2 separate regions of the Homo sapiens genome follow, and region 2 is linked to region 1. Evidence: promoter capture Hi-C in human tissues and cell types (Jung and others, 2019). All regions are on one chromosome and are shown on one strand. The core of a region is centred on a gene start or on the middle of the fragment in contact, and the rest is flanking DNA. Distances in the headings are between cores, read along the strand shown. Region 1 holds the start of FOXD2 (forkhead box D2). Region 2 has its middle 83 kb from the start of FOXD2.

Region 1 (6,819 bases), core at 2,129-4,628:
TCCAAGCCTTTTACTCTGTTACATGTGTTAGGGGGTGGCGGGGGGGGGAGAGGGGATTCCAGACAAGGCCCTAAAGCCGCCAGGGAGAAACCTGTCTCCTCTCAGAGACAGAAAGACAGCAACTGAGAATCACAAACACACACAAAGACATGTTCACCAACATACATAGAAATAATAATGCAGATATTCTGAAATACAATTCACACACACACACACACAAAAAAAAAAGCAAGGAGCTGTGCCGACCCAGACAAACACAAAAACAAATCATAAGTTCCATAAAAGCCCTTCACTCAGAAACAGAGGCATACAGAGTACACATCACCAGATATATTCACCTTAAATTGTACTTAGTGGGTAGAGTGTTCATGAACCCTTAGCACCCAGATCTGCCCAGGCCATGCCAACATCCAAACTAGAAGGACATGAGAATCCTCAGGTGCAGTGGAAACACAACCCCAGGCAAAACTCCAGGCAACAACCTTCTTAGGACTAGAACGAAAATGAAAGTGCTGGAGAGGCCACAGGCTTCCCAGAGATTCGGCCTCATTAACAGCTGAAGGCCAAGACCAAAGTGCCCCTTGCATCCTCTAAGCTCAAACCCCTCTCTGCCTGCTTGGGCTGCCCAGGGGCCTTTCCTCACTCCCCCTCTGTTGGGGAGCTAAGCTCTTCTGGGAGAGCCCCATCAGGGGCAAGGGAGTGCAGGCAAGCAGACAGAGCTGGTGACTGCTGAAGTTCACATACATTTATTCAATCGACACCAATGGGAAATAGGCGGCAGACAGATTTTTCTTTTCTTCCACACAGACCATCAGACGATTTCACAGAGCTTCCCCACAGTGGAGAAGTTTAAATCAATGCACACCCAGTGGACAGAGAACGCCGAGAGCAGCGCGCTGTACAGATATTTACACAAAATTATAGGACCCCCTGCCACAGGGTGTGCCCTTGCCCACTCCACCCCCACCTCTCCAGTCCCTGGCCCAGACCCTTCTCTTCCACCCAATCTCATTGCCTTTAGCCACAATAAATATCACAGGGCCTGGGACAGGGTGGAACACTGACAGGGTTGCTGGCCGGAGATGGCTGGACCCAGCCAGCCAAGGGAAAGGAAAGAAATTCCTTTAAAAGCACCCAAACACAAAAGAGAAAGGATTTTCCTCAGTGGAGTGGGATCCAGGGTTTCTGCAGGGAATATAAAGACCCCCTGCTTCACCTCTCCGTTCAGCTCCGCCTGCGTAGACACTGGTTTAGGCTTCAGAGGAAACGAACTTCCTTGGAGAACAGCAAAAAAAAAAAAAAAAAAAAAAAGGTTGAATTTTTCTTTTAAGCACAAAGCAGATAATAGATGTCTTTAAATTATAATATTGGACAAGCAGGGTCTCAACGTTGGGGAAGAAGTGAGAGGGGAAAGGCAGAAAGGGAGACCCTCTGTTGGTGTTTCTGGCGGGATCCGTGGAGCCTGGCCAGGCATCTCTCCCGGAATGTGTTCCCCGAGAGGCGCAGAGGCAGGGAAAAAAACGAAGCCCCCACCCCCCTGCTTTTATTTCTCAAACTGTAAAGAATCTTGGCCTGCGACTTCTTCGCGTAGCCCCGGGCCTGTCGCCCTGAGCGATAGAGCCCGCTTAGTCCCAACTATCTGCGAGATTCTGTGCGTGGAGCCTGAAGTGCCGTGTCACGCGTGCCGGCCCAAGGTCTGGAGACTTCATAAATAGACTCCCTGAGTTCCGCTGGGACCGCAGGAACTCCCGGGAGAGGCTGAGGAGTGCGGACCTAACCGGCCCTGGGCCTGCTGCGGTCAGAAGTGGCAGCCACTAAGGCCGGCGACTTTGCTGGCAAACCGGGACCCTGAGGACAGCAGCGCGTCCCCGGGATGCGAGAGGCGAATGTGGCCAGCAACGGGAGCCAGGGCCGGAGCAGTCAGCATGGCCAAGACCTGGGCTTGGCCCCCAGGACCCGCGGCTGCCGCGAATGGCGGTCCCGGAGAGCCCTCGCCGGCGCCCGGGGGTGCTGCCCCGCCGCCACCGTGGCCCATGATGTGGTCTATAGAGAAGGAAGGCCTCTGCCCTGCCCCGGCGCCCCCGCCGCCTGCACCACCGCCCGCGTCCGTCTTGAGGCCCTGGCGCAGAAGTGCGGTGGGCAGACCCGCCGCGGTGCCGGCTGCGGGAGGACTCAGGGACGCCGCGTAGAAGGCTTTGGCGCAGCCCAGCTCCGCGCCCAGGAAGGCGGGCAGGCCTGCGGGGCCCGGGCCCGGGCCCGAGCCTGAGGCAGGCGCAGGAGCTGGGGCCGATCCCGCGCCTGCGAACACCGAGGCCGTCGGAGGTCCGGGTGGAGGCGCGGCGGCGCGGCCTGGGGGTACCGACAGCTGGCAAGGAGCGGCGGCGGCTGCCGCGGCGAAAGCGAAGGCGTGCGGGTGCGGGTGCGGATGCGGGGCCGGCCCCGGCGGGGGTGCGCCGTAGGCCGGGAGAGCCAGCCCGTAGCCGTAGCCGTAGGCGCCGTAGGCAGCGAAGCCGGGCAGGAAAGCGCCGGGATCCCCCGCCGCCGCGGCCCCGCCACGCAGCAGCAGCTCCGGGTGAGGGTGCGGGTGTGGGTGCGGCGGCGGCAGGGGCTGCCGCTTGAAGCGCTTGCGACGCCGCAGGAAGCTGCCGTTGTCGAACATGTCGGCCGACTCCGGGTCCAGCGTCCAGTAGTTGCCCTTGCCCGGGTTGCCCGGCTCGCGGGGGATCTTGACGAAGCAGTCGTTGAGAGAGAGGTTGTGGCGGATGCTGTTCTGCCAGGCGGGGAACTTCTCCCGGTAGTAGGGGAAGCGGCCGCTGATGAACTCGCAGATCTCGCTCAACGTCAGCCGCTTCTTGGGGCTCTGCAGGATGGCCATGGTGATGAGCGCGATGTACGAGTAGGGCGGCTTCACCAGCGGGCTCCGCGTCGCCGCGCCCCCCGACGGCGGTCCCGGCCCGGGCCCCGCTGCGCCGCGGGCCGCCGCGGCGCCTGGCCCCGGGCTCCCCGCTGCGGCCGCCGCCCCCCGGGACGCCAGAGCGCGGGGCTCGCCGTCCGAGCAGCCACCAGACTCCTCCTCGTCCTCGGCTAAGTCTGCCTCGGCTTCCTCCGCGGGAGGCTCGTGGCCGTGGGGGAGCACGTCCCGGGGGGCGCGGGGCCCGGAGCGAGCTGGGAGCTCCCCCCCGCCGCTGCCGCCGCCCACCACGTCTATGTCTGCGTCGGCCTCGGACAGCGCGGCCGGGGAGCTCTCGGAGGACATGATCTCGCAGCAGCAGCTGCCCAGGGTCATGGTGCCGCTGCCGCCGCCGCCGCCACTCTCCGGCTCCGCTCCGGCAGCGGCTCGGGCTCGGCCGCGCTGCCTCTGGGGCGAGTGCGTTTTGCGCGCGGGCGGGGAGGGGGCGGGGGACTGAGGCAGGCAGGGAGGGGTGTCCCCCGGCTCCGCAGCGCCCCCTGGCGGCCCAGCTCGGCCGCGCTCACCTTCCAGGGCACGACCCGCCGGCGGCCCCCGCCACTACCCCGGGAATCCGAGCTGGGACCCGCCGCTGGGGCGCAACGGAAGGAGCTGAGGCTTTCCCTTACCTGGGCGGGCCTCAGCCCCTAGTCCCCTCGGGGTGGCAGTGGTTGGTGGTGGGGGATTGTCCCTCCCGCCTAGCGGCTGCCTAAGGCGGAAGAGCTGCGGGCTAGGGCGGAGCTCCCTGGGCGGGGTGGGGCGAGGCGACAGGGGCGGGCGTAGCGCCTCCGCTGAGGGACCCGGCGGGAACAAACCGCCGCCGCGGCGGGAGCTGGGCTCGAGTGGCCGGAGGCGGGCCCTTGTCTTCGCCGCCGCTCCTGCACCCTGTGCTCCCTGAAGCCGCCGCCTTCAGAACGCTCAGCCCCTGGATGTTAAGGCTCACTCGGGCGCCAGCCGCAGCCAGGGAAGTGGCGGCGGTCCCCACCCGTCCTCTCCCCAAGGCGGCGCCCGGGCCACCGGGCCGAAGCGCAGTGGGAGCGCGAGGCTGAGACGCCGGGACCCACGCCGCCCCAGCGCGGCCCGCCGGCGCCCACCCGAGCCCGCACGGCTTCCAGCCCGAGGGGAGACGCATTCGAGTGATCACCAGGAGCGAACTTGGCGCCCGCAGCCTTGGGCCTGGGAGAGGTGAGATTGCGGCGGCGCCCTCTCCTCCCTCCGCTGTCGGGCCCGCCACCCCTCTCCGCGCGGAGAGGCCGGGCAGAGCGCCGGCCGCTGTGGCCGCGTTCCCGGGGCGCGGGCCGGTCTACTGCTCCGAGTTTGCCTGTTCTCCGACCCTCTGGATCTCGGCATCCGTTTGTCTCAGTCTCTGTGACTATCTCACTCTCCGTGAGTCTCTGTGGAAACGGCATTTGTCTGGATGTCTGTTCATGGGTCTGGGAATCCGCTTAATTTCTCCCTCCCCTCTCCCTGGCCCCAGTTGCCCTGAGGACTGGACACCCCCCACCTTCCTGGCTCCCAGGGTTCTGGGCCCCACCGACAGGCGGCAGGACCTCCTCCGCCCCCTGCCCGACACCCCCTCAGTGAACCCTGACCTCCACCAAGTGTTGCCTTCATCTCTCAAAAGTCTTGTGCAACTAAGGTTGGCCCTGTGCCTTGTTTCTCGCTAGCCGGGTTCCTGCCCATCCTATTAGACCTCTTTCTCCCCCGGCCTCCCTCCAGGACCCAGAAACAAGCAGCTTCAACACAGATTGGGCCCATTTCAGCCTCTGGGGCACGGAAGGGGAGATGGGCGCTGGACGTGAGCAGGAACTGAGCGGATGCCTGGGCTGCTGCCCCGACAGCGCCGCACAGTGGCTAAAGCTCGGGCGTGCGAGGCCGGAATCCCAGCTGCCTCCGCTGTAGCAAGGCTGTGTGACCCTCATTAGGTGACTTCCCCGCTTCGGAGCCTCAGTTTCCTGGTCTGCATAGTAGTTAAGAGCAGCGACCTTAAGTCAGGCTCCTGGGGTTCCAATCCTGCCTTCACTACTTACCCTATCTGTCACCTTGGGCAAGGTTCTTTGCGCTTTGTTTCTGCCTTTGTAAAAATGAGGCTAGTAACACCTACCTCAGAACTGATGTATAAGTGTAGCCATATTCTAGGCCATTTAGGAAAGGGTACTGAGAACACTTTGCAGTTTCATCTAACAGCAGCCTCCAATCTACGGGATAGCCTGGTGTTAATCCAACTCTCCCATTCCACAGATGGAGCTACAGAGGCCCAGGATAGGGAGAAAGAACTCACCCAGGCTCCTGCAAAGAAATAGAACAGAGTTGGGTTGCAACCCTTTTCACAGAATCCTCAAAATAGAGTTCTTCATCCCCCCAAGGTAAGGGCAGAAAAAAATGGAAGGCAGGTCTGACTACTCATGTCCTTTGAGAGGAAGTCGCCTGGGCCCCCTCTGGGACCTCTGACCAAGGGGATCCATTTAATGTGCTGTTCCAGCATAAACTGTCATTGGAAAAAAGAGAAATCTCGTCCTCAAACCATGGACAGCAAATTGGACAGGGACTAGTAGCCCTGGAATTGGAATTTCCTGGGTGACAGACTGTCCGGGGAAAAAGGTCTTGGAGAGAAGCTTCTTGCATGAGTCCAAGGAAACTCACATACCTAGGGTTGCTAGATTTAGCAGATTTATTTTATCTGGCAACCCTACACATACCTCAAGCTTGCTCTTGACTACATGGATATCTGTCTCACACTCCCAGAACCCCACTCACAGATACCCCACACCATGGACCACACACCAACTCCAACCCAGCTCAACTCTGCTAGTATCTAAACAAGTGGAGAGAAAAACAGTGTTGGCGTCATCCTACTCCATTTCACCTTCTGAATGTCCTCATTTCTTTTTTTTCTTTTCTTTTTTTTTTTTTTTTTTTTTTTTGACTGAGTTTCGCTCTTGTTGCCCCCCTGCTGGAGTAAAATGGCCTGATCTCAGCAGCTCACCACAACCTCAGCCTCCCAGGTTCAAATGATTCTCCTGCCTCAGCCTCCCAAATAGCTGGGATTACAGGCAGGCACCAACATGCCCGGCTAATTTTGTGTTTTTAGTAGAGAGGAGGTTTCTCCATGTTGGTCAGGCTGGTCTCAAACTCCCTACCTCAGGTGATCCACCCGCCTCGGCCTCCCAAAGTGCTGGGACTACAGGCGTGAGCCACCCTGCCCGGCCTGAATGTCCTCGTTTCTAAAACAGCAAATGGGAACCAGTAGCTTCCTTCCTTGCCAGCACTCCCCTGGCTCCCCAGGCTTTGGTCAGGGTGAGACTAGCCAGGGCACTTGCTGCCCAAATTTCCTGCTTCAGAGAAGTTCTACCAAGCAGCTACAGCAGCCAGCCCTTGCCTCTGCCTGGCCTTGCTGCACGTTCACTGCTACTGAGACCTACACTGGGGAAGGGGAGTACAGAATCCCCAGCTTCTGCTCTGCAGGGTTGGGGAGGGAGAATCCAGACCCTTCACATACATACTTTTTACAGGAGCGGAAACTGAGGTCCAGGAGATCATGTTACTTGTCAGGCTTTTGAGGGGCGCTAAGCTGGGTTGGACCTACGTGTCCGGGTTCCTAGCCCAGAACCCCTCTGTTTATCCAAATAGCTGTTTCTCTAACCGAGCTCCTCTCTGTATAGAGGGATTTCTAGTAGCCTCTCCTCCCTTCCAAGGTTCTGGGCCAGTTTGTTTTCAACAGTGTCAGGAGTAAGTGCACTGGGGACTGGGAGAAGGGCCACCGCGGGATTCGGAATTTATTTCGTTTTCTTTGCTTCTTCTGTGACCCTTACTTCTTTCGCCTACCGGCTCAGCCTGTTCGGCGTCTTGCAGCAGTGCCTGCGATCCCGCGT
Region 2 (6,819 bases), core at 1,802-4,301, 83 kb before region 1:
CCAGTCATTGAGTGTGGGAAGTTGCTAGGGAGCAAGGGACAGGAAATGGAAATTGATTACACCTTCCCATTGTCATTCACCCACAATATACAAACTGCCACAGGAGCCTTTTAATTCAGTGTGCTGCCTCTGTGGTTCATTTTCGTGTAATTAAACAGCTCTGAGGCCCTGCTGGGCTTGCTTTTGAGCTCACCATCTTCCACTGCCCCTTCACATCCACCTTCTACCCTTCTTGCTCTCTTCTGTGCCTCCAAGGCTGGCATGTAAGGACTACACTGATAGGACAGTGGAGACTCGGCAGAGTCAGAGGGAGAGCTGGCACACCAGGAATTGGCACATCCCTCTAATTGGAAAGCCACAGCCCCTGGCAGCCAACACCTGCCATAGAACGGTCTCTCCAGTTTTCAGTACCTAGCGGTGGTACTAGCTTCCTGACGTGACCAGCCCCAGAGCACTGCCCCATCCCTTATTGCTTTTTTCAAGCCCTCCCTACACTTTTGTAAATAGTCCCTTCTAGAAACTCACCTCCATACCTAGAATGGGCAAATTCAGAGAGATAGAGAGTAGAACAATGGATACCAGGGGGAGGGGAAGAGAGAATGGGGAGTTCGTGTTTAAAAGGGTACAAAGTTTCGGTTGGGGAAGATAAAACCATTCTGGAGATGGATGATCGTGATGGTTACACAACAGTGCGAATATACTTAATGCCACTGAACTGTATACTTAAAAGTGGTTAAAATGATAAATTTTATGCTATATACATTTTACCAACATAAAAAAAAACTCACCAACATTAGCCAACCTTAGCATGCCATCTGTTTCCTCCTGGCATCCTGCCTGAGATATTTTCCCCCAGTGCTGTTTTCCCCAGCAGGTCCAAAGTCTGTGAATCTTGGACCATGGGAGTTTCAGGACACTGACCTCAAGGTCAGGGCAGCTGGACTCCCACAGGTTATATGCTCGCTGAATGCAATGGAGACCATTGAAACTGAGCTGAATAGAATGGACACTCCTGTGCTACGGACTGAATGTCTGTGTCCTCCTCAAAGTTCATATGTTGAAACCCCAATCTCCAATGTGAGGATATTTGGAGGTGGGGCCTTTGAGAAATTATTAGGGTTAGATTAGGTCATGAGGGTAGAACCTTCATGATGGAATTAATGCGCTTATAAAAAGAAAACATGAGATCCCAATGATTCTCTCACCTCTCTCTCTCTCTCTCCCTCTTATACAGCAAGAAGGCAGCTGTCTACAAGCCAAGAAGAGAGCCCTCACCAGAACCCAACTATGCTGGAAGCTGGCACCTTGGTCTCGGACTTCCAGCCTCCAGAAGTATGAGAAAATTAATTTCTTTTATTAAAGCCACACAATCTATGGTATTTTGTTATAGGAGCCCAAGCAGACTAACATACCTGGGAGGGTGCATAATTCTGGGCTCCCACAGACATACCTGGAAAGGATGGTCACACATGAGGATATTCATGACCTGGTCTGCAAACTTGGTTCCAGACCAATGTTTCTTGTTCTCTGATTGTTTCACATGCCAGTTCCAGCTCCTCACACAGCTGGGGGCCAGGAGATGGATCCTTACTCTGCAAATGTCTATGTGACCTTGGGCAACTCTGTCCCCTCTCTGGGCCTCTGTTTCCCTTTTGTACAATAAAGGAATTAACAGTGATATTCAAACTTTTAACCAGAAGAATCCATTCTTCAAATGAAACCTTAGAGAGAAGCTCAAAGTCAAAGCAAAATAAAATCAGGGCTACTCAGGCTGAGGATGGGGTGGCAGGCCCAGAGCTCCACTTCTTTCCTACATACCCCATCCTGGTAATTTCCAGAAAATACCAGTGTTGTAATTTCTGAACCCTAGGGTTCCATGAGGCACAGTTTGATGATCACTTTCCTAGATGGCCCTGTTTGGCAGGGTGTGGTGGGGACAGTGCTGAGCATGTGTGCTCAGTATAAATGTTTGCCAGTGAATGAAAACAGAACCGGGAAGCACACACAACCCCCTGATCTCTCCTCTCTGCCTCATTTCTCACCCCTCGGAACTGAGCGGAGGGGACTTGGGCCCAGGCCTACAGTTCACTAAACAAGGCTGCTAACTACTCACTCCCTCCTCACCCTGCAAGACTCACTCCCTCCTCACCCTGCAAATAATACTCTGGTGGATGAGGAATTGCCGAGCCCTTGTCTGCCTCCCTCTTGATGGGAAACTTGCAGTTCCCTGGCCGGGGCAGCCTGTTACCTCCGAACACAAGCAAAGGGGCCAGGCTGGGGCCAAGAACAATATTTTGTCAGTGAGTCTATTATAAAAATAATGGAATAAAAGAAGTCACCCTCAATAAGTGATGTGCAAGCTTCCCTTCAATCTGCCACGGCCTGACAAGGGCTAAGATGGCCCTTCCAGAACAGGCATGCAGCCAAGAGCTTTAAATAATCATTAAAAATATGTTTGTGATTTATCACCGGGGACGGGCTGGGCATGAGGCTGTGAGGCAGCAGCTCCTTCAGCACCACACCACAGATCTCACAGCCCCGCCCCTTCCCTCTTCAGCTCTGGCAAGGGGGTAGATGGGCATGGTCACCCTCACCCTCCCAGGTAATCCCTGAGCTGTGACTTCCCAAAGGAGAGGAAATATCCAACTGTAAAAGGTCTATCTCCCTCCCTTCTGGCCAGGGGAGAGCAAATCAAGGTCATGTCGAATGTTTCCCGTGTGTTTAAGGCATTGTTCCAGGAACTGTACACGTATCACCTCATTCAATCCTCCTGACAACCCAATGAGCCCTATGCTAGTATGACTGTGCCATTTTAAGTCTGAGCAAGCTAAGGCATAGAGATTGTAAAGTGCTCCCTGAGAAGTGGACGGGTAGGGATTGGAACCTCATGTGTTTGGCTCCAGAGTGGCCTTAACTGGGTTATGATGCCTCCTAGATGAGGGTGGGGCAGGGCCTTTCTCCTGCCTTCACTCCAGATTCCCAATCACCACCCCCTTTGGTGCCTTCATGGCCTCTGTACAAAGGGAATCCCAGCATCCCTCAGCCCCCAATTCCATTTATCATTTATACCCTGTGAGTAGTAGACATGGAAGCCCCCACTTAGCCCGGCTGTCCTGTACACAACACCTTACCTTCAAGCCCCTTTCTGAGCCTCTGCTGAGGTAAGGCGCAGAGAAAACCCACAAAAATGGAAGATGGCCAACCAAAGTGTGAAGGATTCACCTAAAGGCCCCTGAGTCCAGTAAACCTGATGCTTTGTGGCTGTCCAAGAAGCTGGAGGTGGTCATGCGTGCTTGGCCAAGAAGTCACCTCCTAGGACTACAGAGCAAAGAGGCATGGCTAGGAATCAGGACACGGGCGTCTTGGTCCCAGCTCTGCCCTGGACTTGCCTAGAAACCTGGACAAGGCACTCGTCGTCCTTGGGCTTCAGCTTTATTTTCTGATAAATGATCGTGAAAATACTATTTTATCTTCCAAGGCTTGTAAGAAAGCCAAAGAAGGAAATTTGTTAAGTGGGAGGAGAGGAGGAAGAGAATTTGCAAACTGTAGGGTGCTGGGCCTATGGAAAGACTATTATTATTAGTATTGACTTCCCAGGTGCCAGCAAACTTCTTCCTACATGAACAACTCTCAGGTCAATTAATGCCGGCTTCAAATCCTGGGCCATGCAGTTGGAGCTAGGTTAAAGATGCCTCCTGAGTCAGTGATAGCTCTTCAGCAAGCACAGCTCTTCCTGGAGACAGGGCCCTCCTCAGCAGGCAAGGACAGTGACAGCTCTTCCCCAAAGGCCCACGCTGACCTAAAGAGATAAGTCCTGGCTTATTGTGAGTGACAGACAGGCCAGCCAGGGATGGCCTTGTTCACCAGTGGACGGCTCTGTTTGCTCATGTAGCTCCCTGCACAGATGGACAGAGAGTCTCATGTCACTCCAGTGCTCACCTTCTCCTCTCAGAGGATAGTGTGCCCTTCAGCCAGAGTTCCACAGTCATCAGCAGCCCCAGCCCCACTCCAGGTGCTTATCCTGCTTTGCTGCCCAAAAGCTGCACTCACCGGCCAGTGTCCAGGGCTTTTCTCACATCGAATCTTCAAAGCCACTGTGTGGTCTGTATGGCTGATGCCCATTCTATAGCTAAAGAAACTTAGTTTTAAAAGGATTAACTGCCTTGGGCAGAGTCAAGGCTATACCTCCTCCTGATCCATCATGTCTTCATCCACCCTCCCTCCCTGCCCACACCATCACTGATTCATAACATGATGTATTCAGTCATCCATCAGACATTCTTGGGTGCATCAACCTGTCCTTGGCCCACTGAGTTGGATCAGATAAGGCTCTGGCCTTCAGGGAGCTCACAGTCCAGTAAAACACACTTTGAAATCACAACTCTGAGTAGCACGATGCTGTAGTCAGAGACCTGGGCCCCGGTCCTGACTCCACCCGTTTTTCTATTTTTTTTAGAGACGGAGTCTCAAAACCTTCCCCAGTCAATTCCACCCTCCAGAGGCAAACACTGTTCTGACTTCTAACACACTAGAGATTAGTTTTTTGGTTTTTTGTTTGTTTGGTTTTTGTTTTTTTTTTTGACGAATTCTCGCTCTATCACCCAAGCTGGAGTGCAATGGTGCCGTCTCGGCTCACTGCAACCTCAGCCTCCTGGGTTCAAGCGATTCTCCTCCCTCAGCCTCTGGAGTAGCTTGGATTCCAGGTGTGTGCCACCATGCCAGGCTAATTTTTGTATTTTTATTAGAGATGGGGGTCTCACCATGTTGGCCAGGCTGGTCTTGAACTCCTGACCTCAGGTAATCTGCCCACCTCGACCTTCCAAAGTGCTGGGATTACAGGTATGAGACATCACTCCTGGCCCTGACTCCACTCTTATATAGCCCTCTCTGGCTACCCCCATGCCCTTATTATCATTTCCTATTTATAGGCCAGTTTCTGCCACCAGATCCAGGGACTCTGAAGGATACAGGCACTGAGTCTTATTCATAATAATGATAATAATGCCCTGTGGCCCTTAAGCTGAGGCTTTGCAGTAGCAATCACTAAGCACTGAGTGGCTACAGGCCAAGCTTGGCTAACCACATAATGTGGGTTATCCCTATTCATCTTCACAGCAATCCTCAGAGAAAAGGCCCATGTTTTCCCCCATTTTACCTTGTGGAATCTAAAGCTCAGAGAGGTTAGACAGGTTTTCAAGGTTACACAGTTGGAAAGTGGCAGGGTCAGGAGTCATACTTTGGCCAGGTGAGCAGCTAAGTCACTACTCTTAAGCATGTGCTGTACATCTCCCTTCAGTGTTCTAGTACCACAGTGCCTGAATATGAGCTCCATGAGTGCTTGCTGAGTGAATGAGTGAACAAATGAATGAATGCATAGCTGCCCCACCACTACTAGGATACTGCAGCCATAGCACCCAGACCACCCGTGTCTTAGCTTGCACAGGCTGCTATAACAAATGCCTTAGACCGGGTAATTTATAAACAACAGAAATTTATTCCTTATGGTTCTGGAGACTGGGAAGTCCAAGATCAAGACACTGGCAGATTCAGTATCTGGTAAAGGCTAGCTCTCCGCTTCAAAGATGGTGCCTTGCTATTGCACCCTCACATGGCAGAAGTTCCCTGGACCCTCTTTTATAAGGGCACTAATCCCATTCATGAGGGCTCTGCCCTCATGACCTAGTTACCTCCCAAAGGCCCCACCTCTTAATACTTAATGCCATCACCTTGGAGGTTAGGTTTCAACATATGAATTTGAGGGTGGGAGGGATGCATACATTTAGACCACGGCAATCTGAGTCTCAGGAGGTGACATCTAAACCGAAAGGAGAAGTAAGAGGTAGCTGGGTAGAGAGTGAGGGGAGGGTGTTCCAAGCAGATACATGAGTGTGAGCAGAAGCTAAGAGGTAGCAGGGCCAGTGGAGCAACACTGAGGGGACTGAGAAATGCTCTGTGTTGCCAGAGTAAGATGGGAGGGGGTAAAAGGGAGAGAAGCTGTTGACAGAAAGGCTAGAGAGGAAAGCATGGGCCTGCAAATCTTGTAATCAAAGAATCAAGGAACTATGGGAGCTAACCCAGGTTTCTGGTCCCAAATCCAGGAGACGGACCAGGAGGCAGATGGACAGCCAGTCTACAGCTCTAGAAAGATCTAGAGACAGATTGAGGTTTGTGTTGTTGATACATGGACTGTGGTTGGAACCATAAGAGAACCTGAGATCCCCAGCTGGAGAGACGACATGTGTAAGGATGATAAAGGTGAGATACCACTGTGGGAATGGCCATCATTTTCCAAACTCTCCTGTGGCCCACGTATTCTACCCCACCCCCAAGAAATAGGGGTCTTTATCCCCATTTTACACATAAGAAAACTGAATTTGGAGAGATTATTTGTGTAAAGGAACCTGGTGGTAGGTGGTGAGGCTGGGGTTTGTGCTCTACCTGTCTCATCCCAAAGCTTAGGCTTTTATGTGTACATGTTACACATTTAAGTGAGCTTCAGAACTGTAACCCAGGACTCCCACTATTGGTCAGAAGACAAGGTAATCTGTGACTCTTTGTCCAGCACTGTGCTTATCACGTGGTACCCAGCCAGTCAGCACTGAGGAGCTAATTATCCCCCTCCACATCCAGAATAGTTTCCCTGACCCCCCAGCCCACGCCTACCCCTCTGTCATCTCCAGATGCCTCTACCCAAGGTACTCTTCCAGGAAACACCACAGGATCACCCTCTAGTGAGGTGGTAAGCTCTTTGTCACTGAAAGCAGAGGCAAGAGCCCTGGGAGAGGCCAGGAGAGAGGTCTAGTGAAGTTCCTTCCGGAG

Evidence for each region. Contacts are between HindIII fragments. The study calls those that stand out against the background at their distance.
Region 2: a contact is called between a fragment that was not itself captured here and the fragment with the promoter of FOXD2 in region 1, in 4 of the 25 tissues and cell types used here (bladder, mesenchymal stem cells, mesendoderm cells and 1 more).

What each region holds. Positions count from the first base shown.
Region 1 is chr1:47,434,603-47,441,421 of GRCh38, reverse strand. FOXD2 (forkhead box D2) reads right to left here and starts at 3,378. Exons shown (of 1, transcript NM_004474.4): 1 at 731-3,378. The coding sequence starts at 3,286. The coding sequence ends at 1,799. LINC01389 (long intergenic non-protein coding RNA 1389) reads left to right here and starts at 4,105. Exons shown (of 5, transcript NR_126355.1): 1 at 4,105-4,132. It overlaps FOXD2-AS1 (FOXD2 adjacent opposite strand RNA 1), which reads left to right and starts at 6,781. Exons shown (of 1, transcript NR_026878.1): 1 at 6,781-6,819. RefSeq lists enhancers at 1,191-1,960, 6,781-6,819 and silencers at 3,149-3,328, 3,359-4,258, 4,739-4,898. The HindIII fragment of the contact is 12,527 bases long and covers 1-6,819 here.
Region 2 is chr1:47,517,170-47,523,988 of GRCh38, reverse strand. No RefSeq gene overlaps it. Among named protein-coding and RNA genes, the nearest start is that of FOXD2, 83 kb to the right of the region's middle. The HindIII fragment of the contact is 5,422 bases long and covers 341-5,762 here.